Linked DNA regions of Homo sapiens: region 2 is linked to region 1. Evidence: promoter capture Hi-C in human tissues and cell types (Jung and others, 2019). All regions are on one chromosome and are shown on one strand. The core of a region is centred on a gene start or on the middle of the fragment in contact, and the rest is flanking DNA. Distances in the headings are between cores, read along the strand shown. Region 1 holds the start of C17orf107 (chromosome 17 open reading frame 107). Region 2 overlaps KIF1C (kinesin family member 1C).

Evidence for each region. Contacts are between HindIII fragments. The study calls those that stand out against the background at their distance.
Region 2: a fragment that was not itself captured here is called in contact with the fragment with the promoter of C17orf107 in region 1 in 2 of the 25 tissues and cell types used here (aorta and spleen).

The regions. Positions count from the first base shown.
Region 1 is chr17:4,898,286-4,900,785 of GRCh38, forward strand. C17orf107 (chromosome 17 open reading frame 107) reads left to right here and starts at 1,251. Exons shown (of 3, transcript NM_001145536.2): 1 at 1,251-1,543; 2 at 1,651-1,860; 3 at 1,952-2,500. The coding sequence starts at 1,478. The coding sequence ends at 2,248. CHRNE (cholinergic receptor nicotinic epsilon subunit) reads right to left here. Exons shown (of 12, transcript NM_000080.4): 9 at 1,183-1,297; 10 at 913-1,099; 11 at 716-822; 12 at 1-606. The coding sequence ends at 451. RefSeq lists silencers at 848-997, 1,018-1,127 and an enhancer at 1,328-1,637. The HindIII fragment of the contact is 33,281 bases long and covers 1-2,500 here.
Region 2 is chr17:5,008,756-5,011,951 of GRCh38, forward strand. All of the region lies in intron 16 of KIF1C (kinesin family member 1C), which reads left to right. Among named protein-coding and RNA genes, the nearest start is that of KIF1C-AS1, 9.7 kb to the right of the region's middle. The HindIII fragment of the contact is 9,299 bases long and covers 1-3,196 here.

The DNA.
Region 1 (2,500 bases), core at 1-2,500:
TGTTTGGTTCCCACCCGCTCCAGCAGAGCCAGACCAGGGAAGAAGAGGGTTTCCTGGCTACAGCCTCCCTGTGTGCAAGTCCTGCAAAGGGGTCTCCTGTTTGGCTATGAAATGAATATAGATAGATAGCTCACAAGCTGGCAGCCACCAGAGTCCCGTGGGGCTGAGCCTTAGAAAGGCTGGGAGGTCAGCAAGGCTGAATGAAGGGCAGTCCTTGCTTTCTGGAAGACTGGCACCTGAGAGCCTATGTGAACCCTTTCCTCCTGCTGACCCCTGGACTGCGGCCAGGCCTACACACGCCAGGGAACGGGCACACACCATTCTTGTGAAGTTCACAAACTGCAGATTGATCAGCAGGGGGAAGGGATCATAATGCCGTGGTGGCGGCAGCCTACTTTTTCAAAATCAATTTCCTACTGGAGATGGGTGGGAAATTGAAGTCGGTGCGAGCTAAGGCTGGATACACGGCGCGTAGGGGAGATCAGGCACTCGGTTGAAGTAGGCCCCGAGGAAGATGAGGCTGGAGCCCACGCTGAAGAGCACCAGAGCGGCCCAGAAGCAGATGTTGTCAAGGGCATTCCCCATGCGCACCCAGTCGGACACTTCCTGGGGAAGGGTCGGCACAGTCAGTAAAGAGGCAGCTGCAGGAGCCAGCGGCATGGGAGACAGTGGTGGGCCTCTGCCTCGCTCCACCCGCCTCTGGCTCCTGTCCCACCTCGCCGGTGGCCTCCTGATCTCTCGTGCTCTCGGCCACGAAGTTCACGGCATCCACACAGCAGCGGACCTCGGGGGCGGCGGCGCCCAGGCTCTGGCAGAAGGCAGCTGGCGGGGAAAACACCGGGGTGGGCCTTAGGAGCCTCCCCCCTGGCAGGCACCCCGCGCGGCCCCCCGGGCCAGGGCCACTGTGCTCACCCGTCCAGGTCCCCTGCCGGTGCCTCTGCCCCTCAAACACGAGCTCGCTCCGTGGCTTTTTCAGTATCAGCTCCTCCGCGCGGAGCAATAAGCCCACCGACGACGCCCGCCTTGGGGGCGAGGCGGCCCGGGGGGCCTCGGGCGGCGGCGGGGAGCCCAGGAGGCGCGGCAGCAGCTCCAGGAGAACCTGGGGCAGGGGCGGGGCTTAGGGGACGAGGTTAGTACGAAGCCCCACCCCGACCCGGGCTGCACCGCCCCCTCCGCGCTTACGTGGCGCAGCCGCGGGGACATGGCGTGGGTGGTGGGCGTCCGCTGGGACACGTTGAGCACGATGACGCAATTCATGACAATGAGCGTGGCGACCACCATGACGAAAATAAGGAACCTGAGGAGCCCGGAAGGCATGACATCACCGTTCCTCCTCCCAGCTACCGAAGGCGCCGCGCGCTGACCTCACAAACACGGCTTCTCCTGGTACGGGCTGGTTACGCCCTCCAGCTGCGCCCCCTACACGACGACAGACGCGTCCCCCAGCCCTTCTCCTGTCCTACCACTTGTGGCGGCCATGAAGGGGACCCCCAGCTCCCTGGACACCCTGATGTGGATCTACCACTTCCACAGCTCCACCGAGGTGAGGCTACGCCCGCCAAGGGCTGCACCTCGAGACCTTCTGGGTAGGTCTCCTGTTCGCCCCTGTGACCCCTGCCCTGCTACTCTACTGCTCTGCTCCTTCTCCAGGTGGCCCTCCAGCCCCCGCTTCTGTCTTCCCTGGAACTCTCCGTGGCCGCAGCCCATGAATATCTGGAGCAGAGGTTCAGAGAGCTGAAGTCCCTGGAGCCACCCGAACCGAAGATGCAGGGGATGCTGCCTGCCCCGAAGCCCACCCTGGGGCTGGTGTTGAGAGAAGCCACAGCCAGCCTCGTGAGCTTCGGCACCACCTTGTTAGAGGTGGGGTACTGGGGGGCTTAGGATACGCGGCGATCGGGTAGCGGGAACAAGGACCTCTGCCTCCCCGCTAACCCCTGTGCCCCCAATGCAGATCTCAGCCCTGTGGCTGCAGCAGGAGGCGCGGCGACTAGACGGCAGCGCGGGCCCAGCCCCAGACGGCAGGGATCCGGGTGCAGCGCTGAGCCGGGTAGCCCAAGCCGCAGGGCAGGGGGTTCGGCAAGCTGGGGCTGCGGTGGGCGCCAGCGCCCGGCTCCTAGTCCAGGGAGCATGGCTATGCCTGTGTGGACGGGGTCTGCAGGGGTCTGCCTCATTCCTGCGACAGTCGCAACAGCAGCTAGGCCTCGGAATCCCCGGAGAACCGGTGAGCTCAGGACACGGGGTGAGTTAGGGGCCAGAGGCGGCGGGGCTAGGGAGGCACTGAGCCGGACTGTCCCCCAAGAGAGCTACTCGGGAGACCTCCAGGTGACGTCCAGCAGCAGTGAGGAGGACGGCGGACCAGGGACTCCATCCCCGTACCAGCCCCACCCAGCGTCCGAATAAAGCCCAGGGCGGGGCGAGACAGCCAGAGCTTTTCCCGGGGTCTCTGGGTTTTGGCCACGCCCCCACCCTTCACACTGGCCACACCCCCGCGGGGGCTCCG
Region 2 (3,196 bases), core at 492-2,991, 110 kb after region 1:
TTGGGGTCCTTCTGAGGGATCCAGACTCTTCTGGGACCCAGCCACACCTAGGTGGAAAGAGGGGCTACGGATGCGCTCAGCATGGCTTCCAGCCACCTTTGTATACCTGGAGCTGGGCCGCTTCCACCACGGTTGCAAGGATGGAGGAAAAGCAGAAAGGACTGGGGAGACTGGTGGGGTGGAGGTTTCTTCCTTGGAGAGCTTGCAGAGATGCCACCTGCCAAAGCCTGGGGACCAAAGGAGGGGGTTCTTGTTTTAATTGTTCTTATAAAGGTAATACACACCAGAGAGAACATTCTAATAGTTCTAAAAGGTGTGTACAGTGAAAAGTCTCCAATTTACAGCATTTTGTTATAGAAAAAAAAAAAAAGTAACTCTCCATCCTTCCCACCCTTAAGTTTCCCCTCAGAGGCAGCCTTCATTATGAGTTCTTTTTTTTTTTGAGACGGGGTCTTGTACTGTCACCCGGGCTGGAGTGCAACGGTGCAATCTTGGCTGACTGCAACCTCCGCCTCCTGGGTTCATACGATTCTTCTGCCTCAGCCTCCCAAGTAGCTGGGATTACAGGCGCACACCATCACACCCGGCTAATATTTTGTATTTTTAGTAGAGATGGGGTTCACTATGTTGGCCGGAGTGGTCTTGAACTTCTGACCTCGTGATCCACCCACTTCGGAGTCCCAAAGTGCTGGGGTTACAGGTGTGAGCCACCGTGCCAGGCCCATTATGGGTTCTTACTATATTCTCCTTGGGTCGGGCCTGGTGGCTCACACCTGTAATCCTAGCACTTTGGGAGGCCAAGGCGGGTGGATCACGAGGTCAGGAGATTGAGACCATCCTGGCTAACACAGTGAAACCCCGTCTCTACTACAAATACAAAAAATTAGCCACGTGTGCTGGCGGGCGCCTGTAGTCCCAGCTACTAGGGAGGCTGAGGCAGTAGAATGACATGAACCCGGGAGGCAGAGGTTGCAGTGAGCTGAGATCGCACCACTGCACTCCAGCCTGGGTGACAGACAAGACTCTGTCTCAAAAAAAAAAAAAAGAAAAAATGTTCTCCTAGAGATGCTGTCTAGGAGATGTTATAACACATGTACAGGCATATGTTATATAGAACTATACACATTTACTCACATTCACGGCCTCTCTAATAGTTGTAGTTGCATATCTATTTTATTTATTTATTTTGAGACAAGAGTCACACTCTGTCGCCCAGGCTGGAGTGCAGTGGCACAATCTCAGCTCAGTGCAAACTCTGCCTCCCAGGTTCAAGTGATTCTCATGCCTCAGCCTCCCAAGTAGCTGGGATTACAGGCACCCACCACCACGCCGGGCTAATTTTTGTATTTTAGTAGAGACAGGGTTTCGCCATGTTGGCCAGGCTGGTCTCAAACTCCTGGCCTCAAATGATGCACTGGCCTTGGCCTCCTGAAGTGCTGGTATTACAGGTGTGAGCTACTGTGCTTGGCCTGCATACCTTATTTTAAAGCTTCCTTTATTTTTTTCACGGTGTCAGGGTATTCTATTGTGTAGATGTAGGATAATGTATTTAACCAGCTTCCCACTGATGGACATTCAGATTGTTTCCCATTCCTTGATACTACAAAAAAAGGCTACAATGCATAGTCTTACAAATGGGTGTTATCTGTAGAGCAGATTCCTAGAAATGGAGATTTTGGGTCAAATGGTAGCCATGTAAAATTTTAATCTAGGCCGGGTGCGGTGGCTCACGCCTGTAATCCCAGCACTTTGGGAGGCCGAGGCGGGCGGATCACGAGGTCAGGAGATCGAGACCATCCTGGCTAACAAGGTGAAACCCCATCTCTACTAAAATAGAAAAAATTAGCCGGGCGTGGTGGCGGGCACCTGTAGTCCCAGCTACTTGGGAGGCTGAGGCAGGAGAATGGCGTGAACCCGGGAGGCGGAGCTTGCAGTGAGCCGAGATCATGCCACTGCACTCCAGCCCAGGTGACAGAGCGAGACTCCGTCTCAAAAAAAAAAATTTTTTTTTTAATCTATATTGCCAAAGTGCCCTCTGAAGATTATAACCATACCAATTTATTTTACTTTTTTGAGATGGAGTCTTGCTGTGTTGCCCAGGCTGGAGTGCAGTGGTGCAATCTCGGCCCACTGCAAGCTCCGCCTCCCGGGTTCACGCCATTCTCCTGCCTCAGCCTCCCAAGTAGCTGGGACTACAGGCGCCCACCACCACTCCTGGCTAATTTTTTGAACCATACCAATTTATACTCCCAAGGGTAACATACAAGAGAGCCCATTTCCCCTCGCCCTTTCCCACATTCTGGCTTAGTAAGACTTTTCTCTTTGCCTGTGTGATTGGTGAGAAGGTGTCTTAAGGTAGTTCACTTTTACATTTTTCTCAAGGTGGTGAGGATGAACTCTTCTCATGTTTAAAAGCCATGTGGTCTAAAGCCAGAAGAGAGAACTGTTAGACTCATGGGGAAATGGGTTTGGTGTGAGTAGCTCCAACAGGGAATAGTTGGGTCTTAGAGGAAAAAACTACAGTTTGTCTTGGAGGGAGCCTCCTCTTGCTAAGACCCCCACCACCAGGGCTAAGGATTGCTTAAATCAGTGGTGTTCAAACCTGGTTCTGAGCTGCCTTCTCAGGGGCTGAGGATAGGGACAGGACCAGACCCTGGGGCTCTCACCCCCAGCCTGGGCCTGAGCAGCTTCTTGCTTATCTGCTTGATGTCCTAGGCTTCTAGAGAAGGTTTCATTTTGAACAAAGAGTTATAGGGCTGAAGAAAAAGTTGAAAAGCACCGCCTCAAATCGTGTTCCCTCTCCCCAGGGATAGATTGCTTTCTGCTTCCGGAGCCCATCAGCGTTTGCCAGTCCCAGAGCAGGCCTGACACTGCAGTGTAGGGAGGGGCATGGGAGTCCCTCAGGAGAAGTGTCGCAGGAGTGATCCTTGGAGCACTTGGGTGAAGGGCGGATGCACAAGATACACAGACACCTCTGGGGGACACAGCTTTGGGCTCTGAGTGTTAAGTGGCTCCCAGAGAAATAGAGGTTCGACTCCGTGCTGTTTCCCTTCTGTACCCTGTGCTTTCTGCCTCCATGCTTCTGTCCAGGCTGCTTTCACCCGGAGCGCTCTTGTGCATGTCCACGCCCTCCTTGTCCTCAAAGGCTGGCTCCCATGTTACCCTTCCATTAAGTCCTCCTGATCCCCTTGAAATC